4 separate regions of the Homo sapiens genome follow, and all the other regions are linked to region 2. Evidence: promoter capture Hi-C in human tissues and cell types (Jung and others, 2019). All regions are on one chromosome and are shown on one strand. The core of a region is centred on a gene start or on the middle of the fragment in contact, and the rest is flanking DNA. Distances in the headings are between cores, read along the strand shown. Region 1 holds the start of KRTAP4-11 (keratin associated protein 4-11). Region 2 has its middle 12 kb from the start of KRTAP9-2. Region 3 holds the start of KRTAP4-6 (keratin associated protein 4-6). Region 4 holds the start of KRTAP29-1 (keratin associated like protein 29-1).

Region 1 (6,420 bases), core at 1,433-3,932, 97 kb after region 2:
CATTAACTCGTCATTTACATTAGGTATTTCTCCTAATGCTATCCCTCCTCCCTCCCCCCACCCCACGACAGGCCCCAGTGTGTGATTTTTCTCCATTAAATTTTAGAGAGAATTATTGCTAGTGTATAAAAAGTCTATGGATTAGTATAAGTTCATATTTTATCTGATCTCGCGATTCACACTAATACCCAGCTGACTCTACAGGATTTTACAGGTGTGCAATCATGGTGGCCAAGTGCCTCCAGCCTCAGGCTTGTCCCTGGGGTTCGTCCCCAGCTGCCCACAGTGGGGGCCTTACCATTAACACAAACACTGTTGGGATTTTCTACCTTTCCTGTCTTACTTTCACCGTTTCCTCACTTGTGCTTCCTGGGATCATCCCCCAAATAAATTATGTGCACTCAGGTCTTTTTCTCAAGGTTTGCATTGGGTAGAATTTAAGCTAAGACAACAGATTATCAGCAAACATTTTTGGCTGACTGATACGAAACAGGAAATAATAGTTATTTCAATCAACAAGAGTAAAACGAGGAAGTCAGGAGGTGAAGGAGAACCAGTGCTACCATCTGGCGTTTACTTCCTTCCTGTCTTTTTACTGTGTGAATATAGGCATGCACGTTCAACACTGTATTCTTGGTTATCTATAAACAAGTCTCATTCTATAAATTGAATCTTGACTTCCGCAGTTTCCACGTATGTTATTTATCGGGTGACATGTTACCTATCACACAAATGAGTTTAGTCTTCCTGAAATGAAATTATGATTTCTTTGTTTGGGATGTTTTCCTCCCTTTTATCCAGAAGTCAAAAGATATATACATTTTTTAAAGGACCTTACATGCCTCTATGTCATCAAAAAAACCTTCATTCACTCAACAAACATTTACCACCAGTGTTCTCTGTGCTGAGTATCATGGTAACGAGAATAAATGCCATAGCGCAAGCCTTCAGGGTATTTGCATTGCACGTGGTGGAAAGACAGAAGTAAATGACTATGATACAGGAGAATGTATAAATTATGAGCACAAGGCAGGAAATCATGATACATGAATGGGGTAGCTTAGCAGGAAAGATATTATTGAGGAGGAAATATTTTAACTGGGTCTTGACACATGAGTAGGAGTTTGCAGAGTGGACAAAAAAAGATGAAACATTCCAAGAAGATGAAGCAGTTTCAGCAAGCTTAGCAAATTGTATTCTTTACGGCTTTCTTGGCTACACTAAGACATATTAGGCTTACTTTCTCTTTAACCTTGGACAAGTTGTTTGTTTGTTTGTTTTAAGTTTTTAATGCTTCTTTTGAGTATTCCCCTAAAAGACTAATAAGAATATAAACTAGTTCATAAGGTTCTATTAAAGCGTGAAAATGAAACAAATGTAAGATATTTGGTACAATGCCTGCTACATAGTCAATACTTCACAAGTAATATACATACCATGAGGGTGTATGGAACTTATCCACATATTATACATTTCTTATTTTAGTTGTTTAATGAAAATAATTGTAATTCTTTTCATTTCTGCCAAACTGTTTCCTATCCATGTGTCTTATGCAAGTACCTGCAAGAAAAAGTTGAGGGTTTATCTGTTCTACACCCAGAGTACCCAATAGAACATCTTGGATGCATGTTATTGAAGGCTTAATAATTCTAAATATTCTTTATATATAACAAATGCTTTTGTAAATGAAAAATCCATCATGCAATTTTGATGATCAAAGATTAATCAGGCTGGGTGTTGGGGGCTCATGCCTGCAATCCCAACACTTTGGGAAGCCAAGGCAGGTGGATCACGGGGTCAAGAGATCGAGACCATCTTGGCCAACATGGTGAAACCCTGTCTCTACTAAAAATACAAAAGTAAGCTGGGTGTGATGGCGCAAACCACCTTACTCGGGAGGCTGAGGCAAAAGAATCGTTTGAACCCAGGAGGTGGAGGTTGCAGTGAGCAGAGATCATGCCACTGTACTCCAGCCTGGCGACAGATTGAGAATCTGTCAAAAAAAAAAAAAAAGATAAATCAAAACTTCCTACTCATAATGCATATACTGTAAGACATACAGCAAAATGTGTTTTTACCCTTTAAAGGCAGTGAGTCATGGGTAAGTACTTTCGCTGGAGGCTGTGGAATAAGATCTGACAGAGTTTAGAACTTCTTGGGATCTGACCATCTGCCCGACCATCCGAGATGCACACATGGGATCAGAGTCATCCTCATTACAGATGGGACATCCTTCCCCAAATGAGTGCTTCCTTCTAATTCCTTCCCAACATTTCACCTGACCAGGACATTCTTTGACAACAAAAGATACATTCACATTATAAAAATCATCCCCCATGATTTGCAGACAGCAATCTGCAGGTAGGAGGGAGAGTCACATTTAAAAACAAAATGTCAGAGAGTCCTGTGACCAGTGCTTTGTAAAAGACACTGCATAGACCAGGGACAAAGGTGACTCCCCACTAATGAAGAAATATGACATGCATTTCCAATGGAAACACAGGAGCACAGCAGGAAAAGGAAATGGGTTATTTTCTCTGTTTTGGAGTATTTAACTGGAAACACAATGATGTAATTACATGATTAATTTTTCCAGTAGGTAAATAATAACAAGGAAATAATGATGTGGTGGCAATGGGCCTTCAGGAGGGTATAAAGGGACTACAGGCCCAGGAGACTTCCAAACACAAGAACTTCACTCTCCTAGAAACCCAACTAGATCCTTCACCCTCTGACACCATGGTAAACTCCTGTTGTGGCTCCGTGTGCTCTCACCAAGGCTGTGGCCGAGACCTCTGCCAGGAGACCTGCTGCCGCCCCAGCTGCTGTGAGACCACCTGCTGCAGGACCACCTACTGTCGCCCCAGCTGCTGTGTGTCCAGCTGCTGCAGGCCCCAGTGCTGCCAGTCTGTGTGCTGCCAGCCCACCTGCTGCCGCCCCAGATGCTGCATCTCCAGCTGCTGTCGCCCCAGCTGCTGTGTGTCCAGCTGCTGCAAGCCCCAGTGCTGCCAGTCTATGTGCTGCCAGCCCACTTGCTGCCGCCCCAGATGCTGCATCTCCAGCTGCTGTCGCCCCAGCTGCTGTGTGTCCAGCTGCTGCAGACCCCAGTGCTGCCAGTCTGTGTGCTGCCAGCCCACCTGCTGCCACCCCAGCTGCAGCATCTCCAGCTGCTGCCGCCCCTCTTGCTGTGAATCCAGCTGCTGCCGCCCCTGCTGCTGCCTGCGTCCAGTCTGTGGCCGAGTCTCCTGCCACACCACTTGCTATCGCCCAACCTGTGTCATCTCCAGCTGCCCCCGCCCCTTGTGCTGTGCCTCCTCTTGCTGCTGAGCCCACTGCCCTGGCTCATCTCTCCCTTCACTGCAGGCCCACAGTTGTAGACCATTCTTCTGTGCTGACTATTAGGACACATGGAGTGGGATTGATGTCATTCAGCAGGGTGGACTTCATGTTTCCAATGAGCCCATCACCATCCCACTGACTCTGTGAGAACATTCTGGTTCATTTTAAACTCCCTCCCTTGCTTTCTTTCTCTTCCAGTCATGGCACCAAATATGAAATAATTTGTAATCCACTAGCTAAGAAATTATTCCAATCCTCTAAATTCCTCATTTTTTAAATCGTTTTGAGCCTACAGAATATCCTTCCCAGTGAGGTACACATTATCTCCATTTCAAACATATTATTTGTCTGTCAGCCTTTCAGTCATTCTTTTCTCTTGGAAAGGTAGGAGGCTGCCCCTCCCATGCTCTCCTGCTTTCTCCCTGTTCTCTCTTTGTCTCTGTTTGTTCAAGTTTGCCAGAATTTTTCTATTTTATTGGTTCTTTATCTTTATTGTGTTCACAAAATATATTGTATTAAACTTTTCATTTAGAAATCTTTTATTGTTTTTTGCATTTTTTTGTGATAATTTTCACTGAGTTTACTGATTCATGGGGGTGAGGTGGGAATGCAGTAGAAGGGGATTCTCAAAGCATGATTCCAAAGTAAGACTTCAGGGATGAACTCATAGTGCCAAACTGCTCCAATGTCACGCATAAACTAAAATAAAATAGAAGCTTTTGATTGTTTCAATTTGATATATGGAATGCTTTGGGATAGGTAAAGCCCCAGTATTGTTGTTTGTAAGTTCATCCATGATTTTAGAACTTATGATATCATGGTAATACTCCTCACTCTTCTGTGTCAAATTTAAAAGGCACATCTCATCCTACTGCATTCCATCTTGATTCAAATCAGTTAAGGCAGACTCCAAATGTTATATAAGGGAATTTTGTTATTTTGTTGTCGGTGGACCAGTTCAGGTTCTTGAATTTGCTGTGCAAAAGAATTTGAGAGCAAATCCAAAGTAAGAGTAAGCGAAGAAATTTGTTGCAAAGCAAAAGTACTCTTTGAGAGGCAGAGTGGGGTGCTCAGTGGGAGAGACAGCAGCTAGTGCTGTAAGAGGAATTCCTTTTATGGGAGCTATACGTACATAATCATAAAATACTGGTGAGGTCAAGTATGCAAAGGCAGACCTGCGGTTGGCACATGTGCTCAGGATCCACGTGGTCTAACACCCATCGCATGTATCATTAGCATATGAAATCTCCGCCTTGGGGTGTTTTTCTTGTTGTGGTTGTTTTTACTATTAAAATGAGGAAATGGTTACTATAAGCTGAACCTTGATCCTAGCTGTGCATGCAGGACCCCAGAGAAGTCCCTGCCCACCCTCCCAAACACCCCACCCCAGGAAGGAATTTGTAGTTAGGAGTTTCTTGGGCTTTTGGTGCAAATTGGCTAGAGATTGGGGAAGCTGCATCAGGAATAAAGGGCTTTTGCTCTCTTTCCCAGGTTGTACTAGGTATCAGGAACTTGTAACCCTCTGGTGGGTCTGCTTCGATTCTGTAGGACCCCTTATCTTGTGAAAGAGTTAGGCACTGATGCACAAAGGTTCAAGTGAAAAGAGCTTGCTGTGAAAGGATCCTGCTGGGCTTCACACAGGGGACAAGTCAGTATGGCCTTGTGAACCCCCAAAATCGGAGACAGGTCTCAGTTTATTTAGAAAGTTTATTTTGCCAAGGTTGGGGATGTACACCTGTGACACAGCCTCAGGAGGTTCTGAAGACATGTGCCCAAAGTGGTCAGAGCACAGCTTGGTTTTATACATTTTAGGGAGACATGAGACATCAATCAACATATGTAAGATGAACAGTGGTTCCGTCCGGAAAAGGCGGGACAAGTCTAAGCGGGGAGGGGCTTCCAGGTCATAGGTAGATAAGAGACAAATGGTTGCTTTCTTTAGAGTTTCTGATTAGCCTTTCCAAAGGAGGCAATCAGATATGCATTTAACTCAGTGAGCAGAGGGGTGACTGTGAATAGAATGGGAGGCAGGTTTGCCCTAAGCAGTTCCCAGCTTGACTTTCCCCTTTACCTTAGTGATTTCAGGGCCCCAAGGTTTATTTTCCTTTCAAATTTCCCCCCTTTTCTTAAAAATCTTTTTGAGAAAGCCTTTTTGAAGAAAGTCAGTCTTTGGTCTCAAGTTTCATCTGATATCTCATGGCTAGGATTGTTTATTCCTAGAAAGATAATTCCTGAGTTATTAGGAAAGTTCATTTTTAGCAGGTTGTGAAGTTTCATGTCCTATGAAGAGAAAATAGGGGGAGGAAGGGAGAAAAACAAAAATAAACAAAAGAACAATCCTGGAAAATCAATATGGGCCACATTACTCTGAAGTCCATACATCAGTAGGCAGGTATGAAAGTGGCTTATGTATGTAAACAGGTTGCTGGTATTTTCTTCTGAAGTTTAAATTCTCTAGCTCCAGTTCGCAGGGCTTTACAAAAGCACAGATGAGTTTTCAGTGACTCCAAATTAGGAAAAATGGGGGAAAGAAGAAGAAAAAAAAACTGAAAACAATCTTTTGAAGACCTGTAGCCAAGAAAAATTAGAATTCAGTGGAAACTGTAGAAAATAATAAAAATGGGAAAACATTAGGCAAGACTAGAATCTAACAACAGGTGTATTATCATTTTTTGAAACATAATTCTTCTCTCTCCCATTTCCCATTTTTACTAAAGACAAATCATGGCAGGGCTGATTTTCTTTATTATACTTGACCTGATTATTTGTATACAGCGCAGCCATAGTAATACTTTTTTTTTGCATAAGCTTTTAAATTGCCTTTGATGGAACTGAAGCAGGATGTTTCCCTGACCCCTTTGTGGGACTTGTGACGGGTGCCTCGTTTATTCAGCCTGCCACTCTCAACTCCTTGCAGGAGCGAGCATGCAAGCAAATGAGGCAGGAACTGGAGTGCACGTGTGCTGGAATCGGCACTGCAGCACGGTAGGATCAAACTTCACTCACTGGGACCTGCTGCAGTCCCCTGCTTGTGGGAGGAAGCATGCAGGTGAATCAGTGCAGGAGCCAAAGTGAGTGCTT
Region 2 (5,940 bases), core at 582-3,081:
TTTGGTCTTTTCACATAGTCCCATATTTCTTGGAGGCTTTGTTCATTCCTTTTTATTCTTTTTTCTCTAATCTTGTCTTCACGCTTTATTTCATTAAGTTGATCTTGAATCTCGGATATCCTTTCTTCTGCTTGATCCATTTGGTCATTGATACTTGTATATGCTTCACAAAATTCTCGTGCTGTGTTTTTCAGCTACATCAGGTCATTTATGTTCTTTTCTAAACTGATTATTCTAGTTAGCAGTTCCTGTAACATTTTATAAAGGTTCTTGGCTTCCTTGAATTGGGTTAGAACATGCACCTTTAGCTCAGAGGAGTTTGTTATTACCCACCTTCTGAAACCTACTTCTGTCAATTCATCAAACTTATTCTCTGTCCAGATTTGTTCCCTTGCTGGTGAGGAGTTGTAATCCTTTGGAAGAGAAGAGGCATTCTGGTTTTTGGAATTTTCAGCCTTTTCTTGTGCTGGTTTTTCCTCATCTTCTTGGATTTATCCACCTTTGGTCTTTGATATTGGTAACCTTTGGATTGGGTTTTTGCGTGGGCATCCTTTTTGTTGATATTGATGCTGTTGCTTTCTGTTTGTTAGTTTTCCTTCTAACAGTCAGGCCCCTCTTCTGCAGGTCTGCTGGAGTTTGCTGAAGGTCCACTCCAGACCCTGTTTGCCTGGGTATTGCTGCCTGCTCCTTCCTCTGGAAGCTTTGTCCCAGGGGGCACCTGCCAGATGCCAGCCGGAGCTCTCCGCTATGAGGTGTCTGTTGACCCCTGCTGGGAGGAGTCAGGAGGCATGTGGGTCAGAGACCCACCTGAGGAGGCAGTCTGTCCCTTAGCAGAGCTTGAGCGCTGTGCTGGGAGAACAGTCGATCTCTTCAGAGCCCGCAGGCAGGAACGTTTGAGTCTGCTGCTGAAGCTGTGCCCACAGCTGCCCCACCCCACAGGTGCTCTGTCCCAGGGAGATGGGAGTTTTATCTGTAAGCCCCTGAATGGGGCTGCTGCCTTTCTTTCAGAGATGACCTCCCGAGACAGGAGGAATATAGAGCGGCAGTCTGGCCACAGTGGCTTTGCTGTGCTGAGGTGGTTCCGCACCCAGTTCGAAATTCCCGGCAACTTTGTTTACACTGTGAGGGGAAAACTGCCTACTCAAGCTTTGGCAGTGGTGGGCGCCCCTCCCCGCACCAAGCTCGAGTGTCCCAGGTCGACTTCAGACTGCTGTGCTGCCAGCGAGAATTTCAAGCCAGTGAATTTTAGCTTGTTGGGTGCCTTGGGGGTGGGATCTGCTGAACAAGACCACTCGGCTCCCTGGCTTCAGCCCCTTTCCAGGGTAGTGAACAGTTTTGTGCCGCTGGCATTCCAGGCACCACTAGGATATGAAAACAACAACAACAACAACAAAGCAAAACAAAAACACAAAACTCCTACAGCTAGCTTGGTGTTTGCCCAAACAGCCACCCAGTTTTGTGCTTGAAGCCCAGGGCCGTGGTGGTGTAGGCACCCGAGGGAATCTCCTGGTCTGTGAGTTGTGAAGACCATAGAAAAGCATAGTAGCTGGACCAGATAGCACCATCCCCAGAAATACCATTTGATTCAGCAATCCCTTTACTGGATATATACCCAAAGGAATAGAAATCATTCTATCATAAAGATACATGCATGCATATGTTCACTGCAGCACTACTCACAATAGCAAAGACATGGAACCAACCCAAATGCCCATCAAGAGTAGACTGGATAAAGAAAATATGATACATGTACACAATGGAATACTATGCAGCCATAAAAAGGAACTGGATCATGTCCTTTGTAGGGACATGGATGGAGCTAGAAGCTGTTATTCTCAGCAAACTAACACAGGAACAGAAAACCAAAATGACATGTTTTCATTTATAAGTGGGAGCTGAATGATGGGAACACATGGACAAACGTTGGGGTGGGAGAACAACACATACTGGGGCCTGTTGCAGGCAATGAGAGGGAGGGCATCAGGAAGAACAGTTAATGGGTTCTGGGCTTAATACTTGGGTGATGGGTTGATCTGTGTAGCAAACCACCATGGCACATTTACCTATGTAACAAACCTGCACATCCTGCACACGTATCCCAGAACTTAAAATAAAAGTTGATAAAATAAAAAATAAATAATTTAAAAAATTTTTTAAAATTTCTGGAGACAGATGATGGTTGTCTAACAACATGAGTGTACTTACTTCCACTGAACTGTATATGTAAAAATGATTATAATTGTGGTTGGGCACGGTGGCTCACACCTGTAATCCCAACACTTTGAGAGGCTGAGGCAGGTGGATCACGAGGTAAGGTATTTGAGACCAATCTGGCCAACATAGTGAAACCCCATCTCTACTAAAACTACAAAAAATTAACCAGGCATGGTGGCACATGCCTGTAGTCCCAGCTACTCGGGAGGCTGAGGCAGGAGGATCGCTCGAACCTGGAAGGCGGAGGTTGCAGTGAGCTGAGAACGTGCCACTGCACTCCAGCCTGGGTGACAGAGCAAAATTCCATCTCAAAAATAAATAAATAAATAAAGATTATAATTGTAAATTTTATGTGTATTTTACCACAATAAAAAAACAGTAAGCCAGGAATAAAAAGTTTTGATGTGAAAACAAATTATCTCTCAAAGTTTGGGTGCAAATGAAATGTGGCCTAAGTTTTTTGGGCCATGACTTAATCTTCTATTACCATTTATTTAGGTGACCAGAAGAATGAGGACAAACAGAATGCCAATTCCATTATTTCAACAAACAAGTATTTCTAGATGAGCCTCTCACACCAAAGTCCCAGGACAGAGGCAGGAACACAATGGGTGCTCAAAAATATTTAAAGAACTTCACCAGTGCCTGACAAGAGACTGAGAATATAAAATGTTCACATGATTCACGAGGGCTCTTAAAACGAGTTGTTGCTCTTAAGATGTGGCTATTGGTTAGGGGAATGAATTTGGAAAGAACTTTGTTAGTAGAAAATGGTCTGCAAATGCGTGGAATTGGTGTTTCCATTGTCAGAGAACAACTTCGAGTGCACCCCTTCCCGGTTCTAAGTCCTTAGTATAATTCTGTAAATGTGACATCAGTAGAGGTGAAATCAGAAACCCTGAGCCTAGAGCCAATTCTGTCCATCCTTAGCTACATGACACGATGCAGGCCACTTTACTCATCTTGGTTCTGTCCAAGTTTGAGGCTTCTATGTGACTTAGATGAGATAATATATGTGAGATGCAAAACAATCACTGAAACAAAACAAAACACAACACAGGAGGCACTATAGTAAACGCTTTATTAGGAAATAAATAAAGCAATGCTCCTTTCTGCTAAGAAGATAATACAGAGTTGTCATGGAAAGTCACAAAAGTGAGTATTAATTTGAAACAAAATGATATTTATCATTGTAAAGATCTAATAAGGGCCGGGTGTGGTGGCTCATGGCTGTAATCCCAACACTTTGGGAGGCCGAGGTGGGCAGATCTCCTGAGGTCAGGAGTTTGAGACCAGCCTGGCCAACATGGTGAAACCCCGTCTCTACTAAAAATACAAAAAATTAGTCAGATGTGGTGGCAGGAACCTGTAATCCCAGCTACTTGGGAGGCTGAGGCAGGAGAATCACTTGAACCTGGGAGCACAGAGGTGTCAGTGAGCTGAGATCGCGCCATTGCACTTTAGCCTGGGCAACAAGAGTGAAACTCTGTTTAAAAAAAAAGAAAAAAAAAATTAATAAGACAGCTATGAGAATTTTTTTTCTTTTTAGAAATTTTCCTAGAGTAAAAAAACAAAGATAATTTTGTCAACGCTCAGATCATAAATCCAGGTCAAGAACAGATGAAGCTGACCAGCAGCTGGCTCAATGAAGAGACTATCGGAGTGAAAAAGGCTACACTCATTAAGCAAGTTCATAATTTGTTAACAAGAAGATGACTGACAGTTTAGTGACAGTATGTATGTTATCAGCAGAGGAAGTGGAGTGAGTTTGCCATAGAAATGGATATCTGGCCTGGGCGTGGTGGCTCATGCCTGTAATCCCAGCACTTTGGGAGGTCAAGGCGGGTGGATCATCTGAGGTCAGGTGTTTGAGACCAGCCTGACCAACATGGAGAAACCCCATCTCTACGAAAAATACAAAATTAGCTGGGCATGATGGCGTATGCCTGTAATCTCAGCTACTCGGGAGGCTGAGGCAGGGGAATGGCTGGAACCCAGGAGGTGGAGGTTGCGGTGAGCTAAGATCATGCCATTGCACTCCAGCCTGGGCAACAAGAGCGAAACTGGGTCTCAAAAAAAAAAAAAAAAAAAAAAAGAATAAATGGATACCTGGCTGGTCTGATGATGGAAGTTTATTCTATGCAGGTAGTAATCTGTGGTAAGTTGATCAATAACTGCAAGGCTGGCAGCCCCTAGACACACAACAGGCTGATTGGCAGCAGGGCTAGCAGCAGCTGGATCCATAGCTCTGGTTTAGGCAACCTGTCAGGCAGACACACATGGGGTGGTAGCAAGTTCTCCTGTAGTAGATGGGTGCACAGAAGCTGGGCTGGCAGCAGCTGGACCCACTGCCAGTTTGGCCGTAACAGCTGGACCCACAGCAGGTGGGCTGGCAGCAGGGTGTGCTGCAGCAGGAAGACTGGCAGCAGCTTGTCACACAGGTGTACTGGCAGCAAGTGGTCCTGCAGCAGGTGGCCTCACAGTAGGCTGGGCAGCAGGCAGCAGGGCTGGCAGCAGCTGGATCCACATATCTGGTCTAGGCAACTAGGCAGGCAGACACACATGGAATGGTAGCACGTTCTCTGGTAGACGGGTGCACAGCAGCTAGGTTGGCAGCAGGATGTGTTGCAGCAACTGGGGGGGTGGCAACAAGACTGGCAGCAGCTGGACACACAGCAGGTGGTCCTGCAGCACGTCGTAGGCTGGCAGCAAGGGGAGCAGCAGTGGGTCATGGCGTCAGGGGTGGAGGGTGCACTCCTGTTCAGAGGTGAGTTTCCTAGAGTTTGATAACGTTATTCAATCTGAACCTTTTATACATGGTACCCCAAAGTTTTGATTAATGAGCAGAACTTGTCTTTGATACTTCTCTAGTCTTTTGGGAAATGTCCCAAGGAGGAAGTTGTCTATTCAGTGCTGTGAATTTTCTTTGAGTAATTGATTTATTTGCTTTCTTAATTGACAAATAACCAGTCAGGACTATTTTCCTGAACTGAGAAATGAATCATTCTCCCTACCAATTAAGCACTGATCCTCATTTTTAAAGCTGAGTACAGTATTTGGTCATCTAACAGGTCCTATGTAGCTTAGTGAGATGTCAGGACAATTGTTAGTCACCATCTGTTTTTCCTTATTGCTATTTACTTTGGAAAGTACCTCTGAAGATAGGATGATGTTGAGTCATGGTGATGAGTTAAAAACCAAGTTTAGGGAGGGCTTGTGATGCCACCTGTAATGTAGAAGCTAGTATAAGATTTATCCTCCTGCTATAAACAATAATAAAAGCTTTGTAAATATATAAAACAACTGTTTGCAGATATTGGATGACAATCAGCTTTGGGTTATGATCCTTGAAGGAAGACACATGGGGTAAAAAAAGAAACACATGGGTTTGTATGTTTTCAAAATTGCTGCTGCAGCACATCCTGCTGCCAGTCCACCTGCTGCAGCAGCTGCAGCTGTTATGGCCAAATGCCAGAAGAAATAGAGTCCACATAGAGAGCAGAGGAGAGATAGGCGTTAAAGGGGTTTATCACAATTCCTTCTCTCAGTCTGAAATGTGATTTTTGATGGTTAAGTTTTCTAAAGCTTTATCCAGTTAAAATTATCAGTCATTTCTTTTCGAATAATAATATTTTTGTCTTGGTCAGGAGGTATTTATCTACCTAAAAATAAAAAAAATCACATAAATCATCTAGTGAGGATTTAAGATTTTTTTTGACCTTCAAG
Region 3 (6,027 bases), core at 3,521-6,020, 75 kb after region 2:
AATTGCAAAACATGTCGTTTGTTATTTTGTTATTCCAGCATCCAGCAAAATTCTCAGTATACAATATTTAGAGAAGAAAGAAAAAGAAAGAAAGAAAGAAAAAAGAAGGAAGGAAGGAAGGAAGGAAAGAAAGAAAGGAAAGAAAGAAAGGAAGGAAGGAAGGAAGGAAGGAAGGAAGGAAGGAAGGAAGGAAGGAAGGGAGGGAGGGACAGGAATTCCATAAAACATTGGGTTTTTATTTTGCTTAAGTTTCTGAAAAGAACAAGTGTAGTTAGTGCATAATTGTGCCAACGATTCCATTCTAGTCTTTTAATGTAAATATTTCTTCCTTATCTCTAAATGGCTTATTCTTTTTAAGTTCTTCTTTTTTAGGCACATCTTATCCTTTCTTATTTATTTATCCTTTAAAAACTTTAATTATTGGCTTTAAGTAGGTAGGGGGTATAAATTACATATATAGAAAATTATAGAATATGTAAACAATTAGTTCAATTGAAATATCTTTTATAACTTTTAGGAAGAACCCTTCTTATACCTCTATTTTCAATTTGTTCCAAGTCTCTACTGATTATTTCAAAGAAAGAATTTAGTTATTTCATAAATAAATTTATTATTTCATAATAAAGAGAATAATTTATCTTTGTTATGCTCACGGCCATCACCTGATGCTGAGAGTTCAAATTTTACTGTCTTACTTCAACTTTTTTCTTTTCTTTTCTTTTCTCTTGTTTTTGAGATGGAGTCTCACTCTGTTGCCCAGGCTGGGGTGCAGTGGCATGATCTCTGCTCACCACAAGCTCCGCCTCCCAGGTTCATGCCATTTTTCTGCTTCAACCTCCCAAGTAGCTGGGACTACAGGCGCTCACCACCATGCCCAGCTAATTTTTTTGTATTTTTAATAGAGACAGGATTTCACCATGTTACCCAGGATGGTCTTGATCTCCTGACCTTGTGATCCACCTGCCTCGGCCTCCCAAAGTGCTGGGATTACAGGTGTGAGCCACCACGTCCAGCCTCACTTCAATTTTTTAATGGCATCTCTTCCCAGAAATCCAGGAGTGTTTTGTCATTTCTAAAGGCAGATCAAAAATTAAAATACATTGTGCATAGCATATATTTTGAAAGCACTTTTGCCAAAATTATAACAGCAAGAAAAATGAACCCACTGGGCGGTTACAATATCACCTAACATTCCTTCCTGAAGGCTTTTCATAGCTCCCTACCATTTCTTCCAGGATTTGAGGGTACCCACAATTTCTCCCTCATGCTATCAATCCCAACTTCTCTCATTACTTCTCAAAACAGACCTTTCAGCATATCACTTTCACCATCACAAGCCAGGGTCATGCCCAATCTCAATTATGTGCTCCTTTTATATCCCCTTTCTCTCCACCTATTTGAATGGTTTGTATTCTCAAAGGTCAGTGTGACCCTTGAAAGCCTTGACAAAATCTTCATCCATTAAACATATGTTTCAGGTTCTGTTATATAAAGATGAATAGATCATAGTCTATGCCCTAATGGAGTTTGTATTTTAGAAGGTGCCAATAGACAAATGAATTTCTGAGAGAGAATCAGATGGTAGAGGCTGTGCATATATAAGGCACAACAGATGTGCAGTGGAGGAAGGACCTTGCTTTGTGTGAGAACAAGAAAGATATTGGAGAAAAATGGCATTTGGACAGTAAAAAACAAATAGAAGAATGCTAAATTAAGAAAATAAAAAATATTTTACCCCAAAATATATTTTTTGACATATTTTAAGATGGCTGCCACATGACCAGCAGACTAAAGTGGCCCTGCAAAGCTGTCTTTTGTGAAGGAAATTTGCATCTGTAGAGAATCTCCATTAATGCAGTCAGGCCTTCTCATTATAGGCCTTTCCTGGATCTAGAAGAGAATAACTGACTGTCTGACACCCTTAGAGTTCTGAAAAAAATCATTTACCATCTCTTTTCTCTGAGAGTTGCTACCTGTGAGATTTCATCCACATAACAAGACCCCCTTTGCTGGCCAAGCCTCTTTCTTTCTCCCTCCCATAACCTGTTGATATGGTTAGGCTTTGTGTCCCCACCCAAATCTCATCTTGAATTGTAGTTCTCATAATCCCCACGTGTCATGGGAAGGACACAGGGGGAGGCAATTTAATCATGGGGTCGGTTACCTTCATGTGATAGTGAGTTCTCATGAGATTTAAGGGTTTTATAAGGGGCTTATCTTCCTTCTCCTCTGCACTTCTCCTTGCTCCCACGATGTGAAGAAGGATGTGTTTGCCTCCCCTTCTGCCATGATTGTAAGTTTCCTGAGGCTTCCCCAGCCATGGTGAACTGTGAGTCAATTAAACCTCTTTCCTTTGTAAATTACCCAGTCTTGGGTATTTCTTCATAGTAGCATGAGAATGGACCAATACACCTGCCTTGCCACTAAAACCTGTTTCCTGTTTTTGGCCATGCTCTGAGCCCTCATTCTTTCTGGGACCTCAAGATGTTGTATAAGCTTCTGTACCTTATTGAGGGGTTGAGTTTTCATTCTGAAGGCTCTTGGGTATACTTGTTAGATAAATGTGTATGCCTTTTCTCCTACTAATCAATCCGCCTCAAGTCAGTGATTTTTCAGTGAGGAAAATCCTTCCTCCATTGCACTTCTGTGGTGCCTTATTTACACATGGGCTCTATCATCTCATTCTCCATTGGAAATTCATGTGTCTATCAGCTCCTTCTAGAATACAAACTCCACTAGGGCAGAGATCTCCAGGTTCCTCAGGCCCCACATAAGTTCACAAGAGACATCCCTTCATTCCCAGGAAGAGAAAATATTGTGAAGGTAATTTGTTCTTTCCTTGAATAATTGCTTTTCCCTGAATGTCCACGGCACTAAAGAAGACCCTTTATTTAGAACCATGATCATGTGAGGATTTTATTTAAAAACTCTTTATGGGCCGGGCACAGTGGCTCTCTCCTATAATCCCAGCACTTTGGGAGGCCAAGGTGGGTGGATCACCTGAGGTCAGGAGTTTGAAATCAGCCTGGACAACATGGTGAAACCCCATCTCTACTAAAAATACAAAATTAGACGGGCGTGGTGACACATGGCTGTAATCCCAGCTACTTGGGAGGCTGAGGCGGAAGAATTACTTGAACCTGGAAAGCAGAGGTTGCAGTGAGCTGAGATGGTGCCACTGCACTCCAGCCTGGGCAATAAGAGTGAAACTCCATCTCAAAAAATAAATACATAAATAAATAAAATAAAAACTTGTTATGAATGCAATTTCTGTGTAAATGTAACTGGACCCAGGTTCAGCTGCTTGCTGCTGGAAAGCCAACACATAAGAGGCAAGGGCTGGTGAAAGGAAAGTTAGTTCTAGTTGGAGAGCCAGTAAACCAGAGGATAACCTTGCTTTGTGTGAGGCCAAGAAAGATATTGGAGAAAAATGGCATTTGAACTAACTGGTAATGAATAACTAGAAGAATGCTAAGTGAAGGAAATAAAAACATTTCACCCCAAGATATATCTCACTGACATCCTTTAGCTAGTGAACTAGCATTCTAAAGTGCCATCTTAAATTTTAAAATTTGCCATAGGGTTTTGAAAGGGAAACTTGGCATGGGAGACATGCAGGGGTGGTGCAGGGTGCTGAGTCTGCATGTCTTGTTCCAATGGCTATCTTGGGTGTCCAGAGGTTTGGGAGGCATTATTTTGACTTCAGCCCAATGGTGGTGGATTAATTGTTCAAGATTCCCCCTAAGTGAGAGGATTCCTCAGGGCTCTGTGCCTGGTTTGTTTCAAGATTAGCCTCTGGAATTTCTTAAGCAAGAATATAATTAGATAAGATATTAGATAGTATTGCCAGAAGGGAGTGTGCAGAGGGAAGGAATGAAGAGGTGAGAGGGGAGGAAAGGAAGAGAAAGTGGGTGATTTTTAAAATTGAGGTCCACAGTTACATAAGTACCTGTAAGTTAAAGAATATATCTTTTATATTCCTCTCAATGCTTCTTAAAAAATCTTAGAAATAAGTGATACTAAAAAAAAACCCTGCTAGATGTTTTAGCTCAAAATGTATGAAAAAGATTTTAACAAAATGTCAATAAAGCATAACCATTACACATTTGATATTTCAAAAGGCAGATCAAAAACTATGATCCACATTACTCTACTTCAGCCTGTAGGACACTTTTGAAGACAGACGCAGCTCAAGCCCAGATGATGCTTTGTTCCTTAGAAACAGTGAGTCACTACTAACTGTTTCAAGGTGCACCAGAGTGATGAGAATTAACACAGCTTGCAATGACCTAGGAATTTAGTTAGCTCAATGGCCACCCAGAATACATACAATGAATCATAAGCTTCCTTATTTCTCACACTCAAAAACAGGAGCATATTTTCTTTTTTTCCTGTCAGCATTCCAGCTGATTGACACATGCATTTCTCCACTAGAGATCTTAGCCCAATCAGAAGCTCTCCCAAAACGATATCATGATGAGAAACAGACAAGTGACAGTGGCCCTCCCATGTCACATGATACCCAGAGACTGAAGTCATGTGACACTGAAACCAAGGAAAGGAAAACAAGAGGTGACTCATGTGGGAACACCAGGGTGAGAAAAGGGAAATAATCATTTTCTATATATTGGGATTTTTTACTAGAAAAACACAATATAATTTAGTAATTGCATTTGTGTCATATAAACAAAAACAAGGAAACAATCTTCTCATAATCACAAAGGCTCCTCAGCTGGGTATAAAAGGGGACATGCAGCAAGGAGACTCCCAAACTCACGAAACTCACTCTCTTGGAAACCCACCCAGAACCTTTACCCTCTGACACCATGGTCAGCTCCTGTTGTGGTTCCGTCTGCTCTGACCAGGGCTGTGGCCTGGAGACCTGCTGCCGCCCCAGCTGCTGTCAGACCACCTGCTGCAGGACCACCTGCTGCCGCCCCAGCTGCTGTGTGTCCAGCTGCTGCAGACCCCAGTGCTGCCAGTCTGTGTGCTGCCAGCCCACCTGCTGCCGTCCCAGCTGCTGTCCCAGCTGCTGTCAGACCACCTGCTGCAGGACCACCTGCTGCCGCCCTAGCTGCTGTGTATCCAGCTGCTGCAGACCCCAGTGCTGCCAGTCTGTGTGCTGCCAGCCCACTTGCTGCCGTCCCAGCTGCAGCATCTCCAGCTGCTGTCGCCCCAGCTGCTGTGTGTCCAGGTGCTGCAGGTCCCAGTGCTGCCAGTCTGTGTGCTGCCAGCCAACCTGCTGCCGTCCCAGCTGCTGCATCTCCAGCTGCTGCCGCCCCTCTTGCTGTGAATCCAGCTGCTGCCGCCCGTGCTGCTGCCGCCCCTGCTGCTGCCTGCGTCCAGTCTGTGGCCGAGTCTCCTGCCACACCACTTGCTATCGCCCAACCTGTGTCATTTCCACCTGCCCCCGTCCCTTGTGCTGTGCCTCCTCTTGCTGCTGAGCTCCTTGCCTGAAACTATCTCCTCCCCTTCAGCTCACTCCTCACAGAAGCAGACCTTGTGCATCTCATAAACAACTCAGAAGAGGCCATTCCCACCAACTGTGTTTCCATATCCTGGACATATATCTAGGATATATGTCCTGGCTATACATCTAGAATATATGTTCCCCATGTTGACCCAAGTGTGAAATTAGATATTATTTACAGAAAGAAATTAATAGAATTTACCAAATTTTATACCTTATATTTGTATTTATGGATACCAAGTTCTTCTGTCCCAAACATGGAAATTCTTGCAGGGTAACTCGGGGCAAGGTTGTCTCACTCTCAGATTTGAAAGTCTGATTGTTTCACCCTGTATTTCCTTTTACAGCAATGTTTCTGTATCTTATTTTTGCTGCTTCTGAATAAAACTCCACTTTTGTCGCATAGAAATACAATGTTCTTTTTGTGTTGCTTTGTAATGATTGTCCTTAGTTCCTGAGAAATTCCACCCAAAACACAACTGAACGAATCCTATTCTTGCTCTCACCTTCAAGAAAATTGCAACATGTAATGACCTAAAAAAAAGGCAATACATGGA
Region 4 (5,720 bases), core at 1,776-4,275, 87 kb before region 2:
AACGTGGTGAAACCGCATCTCTACTAAAAATACAAAAATTAGCTGGTCATGGTGGCGCACGCCTGTAGTCCCAGCTACTAGGAGGCTGAGGCAGGAGAATTGCTTGAATCTGGAAGGAGGTTGCAGTGAGCCAAGATCACTTCACTGCACTCCAGCCTGGGCGACAGAGAGAGATTCTGTCTAAACACACACACACACACACACACACACACACACACAGGAGTTGGCTAGGGTTTTGAACCTCTGTGCCAAGCACTGGACTAAGCATTTCATATGGATTACAGCAATTCTTTGAAGTAATATGTATTCTCTCCTATTTTTTCACCTATACATAAGATGCAGAATTCGAAGGACAAACAATCCAAGTGCCCATCAATGGACAATTAAATTGTGGTATATTCACCCAATGGGATATTATACTGTGAAGATGACTGGAAAATGGCGACATGCAATAGCATGGATGAATCTTACTAACATAGTGTTGATTGATATAAACAAGCTCCAGAAAACCATACGTGTGTGTATATATTTATGTATATTAATATAATGTGTGTATATATATACACACACTCAAACATATATGTGTGTATTGTTCAAAAACCACAGACACACATATGTATGAGTATACATGCATTTATACACATATGTACACACACAAACACATATATATAAAGGGAGTGATAAAATTCACGATTGTCATGGCTAATAAGTAACATGCAAATGACTAAAACCCAGTTCTTTCCAAAGCCTAGGTTCTGTATGGATCATGATATGTCTCAATGTGGTCACAGGTGTCTTTGTTGATACACTAGGTGTTTTTAGTGCCTTGAACTACAGCAAGACAGATGTTCTTGCTATTAAGAGTTTCCTTTAGGAGAAAAGAAAACAAGAGCAGAATCACTTAGAGAAAAATGGATGTAGAATGGATTGCTTTAAAACTATAAAAGTGGTATAGGATATTGGACTGAAGTTGATGTGATTTTTCAAACATGCTCATGTTCCCAGTTTGATTGACATATTTGGTAAGACTGAAAGTATTAAATACATCCTCTGGGAAGATGAAGAGCTTTGGGGGTAAATATTCAGCAATAAAACACAGTGCATGGATTCCTGCAGATTGAAAGATGCCAACATGAATACAGACAAGAAGGAGGGCAAAAGAAGTGATCCATGGTGTGACATAGAAACCAACTGTGGGGAAAAAGGCATTTCAATGGCAGGGGAGAAGGTTTTCCAGACATTGTTCTGATCAAAAATGTTTCTCTTCTTTTTAAAATGGAGGTGAAGAGGGTGCCAAGGAGAAGGCATTTTGTAGCTGGGGGTTTGCAAAGTACCCTTCAGCGTTTTCAGTATTTTCAATAATTTGTGAAGCAACCAAAGCAAACAAACACCCACAAAAAACTAACCTGAGACATGACAACGCAGTTGATGAAATCGCCATACTTTGAAGACTTAGGTAATTAGCTAACATATTCAACAGAATGAGTTAGTGGCAGAGCCAGAAATCAAGGCCAGCCCCATCTGGCTCCCCACACCGTGATCTTTCCACTCCGTCATGTGCCTCCAGCGTGAACCGGCCAGAACGTTGGCTGGTGTAGAACACCGGACCTGGTTGGTGATGCGGAGCCAGGACAAGCCCGGAGGAAAAGCAGAAGGGCCAAGAAAGTCCCTCACGAATTCCTCTTGGAAGGGATTGGTTTAACATTAACACCACTTTACAGTGATTTTTTTTATTATCACTGCTGGCGTGTTTTTATTTGTATAGAATTCATATGCTATTGATGCCCTAGGGTGGGTTTGATACTTCCTGATGAAATATTTGGTAGTTTAAAAAATTTCCAAAATTAAAAGACTGTGTTTGAGTGTATTGATAAGTAGAGGTAAGTACTCACACCAGTGTGGTCTAGCTGCTGATTACAGTCACTGGAGTGGGCGGAGGATCCCCAGGATGGGGCCTGGGCAACCTGCTCACGAGCCAGTCTGTTGCCATAGGGGTGTCAGCCTGCAGCCACTATATCAGTGTCGCCTTCTCCCTGCCTCCCCAAAGTCAGGGGGTCTAATAGGTGGTTAAGATCAGGGGTTTGGTGGTCAGACAAAGCTAGGTTTGAATTTTGTTTCTACCCCTTTTCATTTGCATAATTTTGGGAACATGATTTAAACTCTATGAGTTTTGCCACTTCTGTTTTCTTCTTTTCTGTTCTAAAAAAATCTTGAGAGGAACCAATTTGGGGGAGATTTTAAGCTTCCTAAAAGGGCCAATGAAGTTTTATATTTTAATCTTAACTTTGTTTTAAACCTGGTTTCTTCTTTATTTATTACTTTTTTTTAGTTTTGCCACTTCTAACATAGTGATGACAATTATACTTACTGAAGTCATTGTGAGGATCCAGTGAAAAATGCAGCCAAGGACTTGATCTAGTAACTATGCAATAAATGAAAGCCATTTCTATTGTTATTATTAGTAATAGTACTAGTAAACAAGTTTCAGGAATGATAAATGGGAAGGTTTTAAAAAGAGGTAGAGGCACTTAAGTGTCCCTGGGTTCCTTGGACTAATTTTCCATTTCCCGTCTTGACATCCTCTCCCCAAACTGGGTCAAGGCTTCATTTCTGATTGAATGGTGCAAAGCTGCATTCCTGGAGGAACAGCAGGGCCACTCTGGCTTGGCAGAGGCCTCCTGATGAAAGGTTAGTGCCAGGAAAGGCCTGCTTCAGTGAGGCTGGAGAGCAACCTGTAAAAGAGACAGCTCATCCAAGAGCAGGAGCAGTGTCAACGAATCCAAATGCAGCGCAGAAAACTCCCGACTCAACAGACACCTTTTCAAAGTTGAAACATCTCCCAGGCTCCTGAAGCCTGCTAATCAGATGTTTGCATGCAAATGAGTAAAAACAATAACAAGGAAAGATGCTGCATGGCGTGCCAACACCCCTAGTGAAGGACTATAAAAGCCCCTCTGTATCGGATGTCTTTCCAATGCAGGTATACTGAGCTTGCAACTTCCCAGCAAGGTCAGCACCAGCACCATGGCAGACGGCTGTTGTCCTGGAAACACCACAGCCATTCCAGCTGTGCCCACCATCACCACATACCCAGTTAAAGGTGGATTTCGACATGCTCTCTGTTTGCCTAGTTCCTGCCACAGCAGAATGTGGCAACTGGTCACATGCCAAGAAAGCTGTCAGCCATCCATTGGTGCCCCAAGTGGCTGTGATCCTGCTTCGTGTCAACCTACCCGCCTTCCAGCAACGTCTTGTGTGGGTTTTGTTTGCCAACCTATGTGCTCCCACGCAGCCTGCTATCAGTCTGGCACTGGTCAGTCTCCTTGTCTGGTTAGCTCATGTCAGCCATCCTGCTCGGAATCTACTTGTTGTCAGGAAAAGTGCTGCGATGCCAGTCCCTGCCAGCAAAGCTCCTGCCAGGAATCTGTCTGCATGTCTGGATCATGTCAGGCAGCTTGTGGCCAATCAGTCTGCTGTGATGCTGGATCCTGCCAGCCATCCTGCTCTGAAGTGACCTCCTGTCCGGAAACTTCTTGCCTACCAACCATCTGTACAGCTAGTCCATGCCAACCAACTTGGTGCCAAGGAAGTTCATGTCAACCCGTCAGTGGTGAAGGCCAGCCCTGTAAATCAACTTATTATCAACCCATCTGCTATATTTTCAAGCCTTGCCAATCAGCCCTCTACATGCCTGTTCCCTGCCAGCCATCGACTTGTGTGTTCAGTTCTTGCAATACTACTTGCTGTGTGCCTTCCCATTGCCAGCCACCTCACTGCCAACTGGTTCCTTCCACATGCTTCATCTACCAGCCAGTGGCTAACTGCCAGGCCCCTTGTTCCACAAAGAACTGTTGCAAACCAGCTTCTTGTGACACTGTGATTTCTGGCCAACCAACTTGTGATGGACCCCCTTCCTATAACCAGAGTGGCTGCAAATCAGCTTGCTGTGTGACTGGTTTAGGCACATCACCCAGTAGTGGCTCCAATTGCTTGCCGACTTCATGCCAACCCAGCTGTGAGTCCAGCTTCTGCAAGGCAACACTTTGTTAATGGAGCCCTCTTCACACCTCCTCTGAGGGTCTGCGGCTGTCTATAAATGCATAGCCATCCCTGGGTGCCTGCCTCCCACCGAGTACAAATGCTGCCTGCTTTCTAACTTTACCCTGATTCCACCTTCACATTCTCTCCAGGTGCTGACCAGGGAACTTGTCCAGGCACGAAGAGATCCTTCTTAACCGAGAATAACCTTTCAGCAACCATGGACTACCACACTGCTGCTTGCATTTCCTGATGATGTCAATTCATTTCACTTTAGCAAACCCTCTCTTGTTTCTCTTTCTTGATGCTGCCTGGTCTTTCAGAAGACCTCGTTGCTGCCAGCTGCTAATAAAAATGTGACTGGTTAAGTATAATAAATAAGACTCCTGGAGTGCTTTCATTCCTACACACACCTCTATGTAGATTTCCTTCAGGTCACATTTGAACACAATGAGCCTGAGTCATCTAAGTCAGTGGGTCTGCATTGGTCTGCAAGGGTAGCTAGTGTCTAGGATTATAGATTCTCCAGCTGGACGAGAGTAAGGGCAAACAGTTCACTGGCTTCCAAAATTTTCACCACCAAGAGTTCTTTTGAGCTGAGTGGGCTCATTTTCCCTATAGTGAGTAGACAGGAAGCCAACAACAAAAATGGTTCTGGAAAGCCACAGATGAAAACAAACATGAGGTATTGGCCATAGAGAATAGCTTAGGGTTAATTCATTTAAGATTCTTTTTTTTTTTTTTTTTTTTTTGACACAGAGTTTCACTCTTGTTGCCCAGGCTGGAGTGCAAGAGCGTGATCTCGGCCCACCGCAACCTCTGCCTCCTGGGTTCAAGCGATTCTCCTGCCTGGGACATTGTGTCAGCTGGCTAAGGAGAAATATTCATAGGATCCCTTTGTATTATCATAGAGCAGGCAATGAAGGGTGTACCTGTAGGTGAGCAGCAATAATTTGGTAACTAGCAAACAAATCTTCATAGTTCACATTTTTCTGTCACTGAGGTATACTTTGGATCTGTAGAGAGACTATTAATTGTTTTATCCCCAGTTTTAGAATCACAAGGGTCGTAGTCTTGAAAGAAGGTTCTGGGTCAAAAAAGAGGGGGATGGCCATAAGAACAAAATCTAGCACCTGAACATGGAAGGGTCCAGGTGGAGAATTTCTACCTGCAGTTGAATTGACTAATGTCAGCACTGAATCTCTTCTTGAATTGAATTCAAGAAGCATTGAATGCTTCTTGAATCCCTAGATATAGGTGGGCTTATCATTTCAACAGTTCAAGTAGCTAGATCTGTTCTAGTCTTCTAATGGGTATTTTCCTTTTATTTCTAACTATGTATGGGTATTGCCTTCAGTACCTTTTCTACCCACACACATGCACACACATATAGATGCATACAGGTACACACACACACACTCAGATACAGATGCACACACATACATGCACACACACACTCACACACAGACACACACCACATTTCAACTTAGTTGTATGGCTGCACTTAAGGTTGATTTATTTGCTCCATGATTTACAATTGCCTATAAAACATGCCTAGCCAAACCTGAGTAAAGTGCACTAAAAGACTGATTTTAGCATTTTAGCCTTCCCCATCTAACTGGCCCAGCTGATATCACCCTCTTGTTCCCCCCTGCCCTTTGGATGACTCCTGTCCCAGTTTA

Evidence for each region. Contacts are between HindIII fragments. The study calls those that stand out against the background at their distance.
Region 1: a contact is called between the fragment with the promoter of KRTAP4-11 here and a fragment that was not itself captured in region 2, in 5 of the 25 tissues and cell types used here (IMR-90 fibroblasts, aorta, mesenchymal stem cells and 2 more).
Region 3: the fragment with the promoter of KRTAP4-6 here is called in contact with a fragment that was not itself captured in region 2 in 2 of the 25 tissues and cell types used here (IMR-90 fibroblasts and bladder).
Region 4: a contact is called between the fragment with the promoter of KRTAP29-1 here and a fragment that was not itself captured in region 2, in 2 of the 25 tissues and cell types used here (IMR-90 fibroblasts and lymphoblastoid cells).

The regions. Positions count from the first base shown.
Region 1 is chr17:41,114,635-41,121,054 of GRCh38, reverse strand. It overlaps KRTAP4-11 (keratin associated protein 4-11), which reads left to right and starts at 2,682. Exons shown (of 1, transcript NM_033059.4): 1 at 2,682-3,874. The coding sequence starts at 2,740. The coding sequence ends at 3,327. The HindIII fragment of the contact is 2,482 bases long and covers 2,620-5,101 here.
Region 2 is chr17:41,211,712-41,217,651 of GRCh38, reverse strand. It overlaps the pseudogene KRTAP9-12P. Among named protein-coding and RNA genes, the nearest start is that of KRTAP9-2, 12 kb to the left of the region's middle. The HindIII fragment of the contact is 7,634 bases long and covers 1-5,648 here.
Region 3 is chr17:41,139,287-41,145,313 of GRCh38, reverse strand. It overlaps KRTAP4-6 (keratin associated protein 4-6), which reads left to right and starts at 4,770. Exons shown (of 1, transcript NM_030976.2): 1 at 4,770-5,881. The coding sequence starts at 4,827. The coding sequence ends at 5,444. RefSeq lists a silencer at 932-1,034 and an enhancer at 5,126-5,638. The HindIII fragment of the contact is 4,215 bases long and covers 3,421-6,027 here.
Region 4 is chr17:41,300,156-41,305,875 of GRCh38, reverse strand. It overlaps KRTAP29-1 (keratin associated like protein 29-1), which reads left to right and starts at 3,025. Exons shown (of 1, transcript NM_001257309.1): 1 at 3,025-4,050. The coding sequence starts at 3,025. The coding sequence ends at 4,050. The HindIII fragment of the contact is 8,416 bases long and covers 1-5,544 here.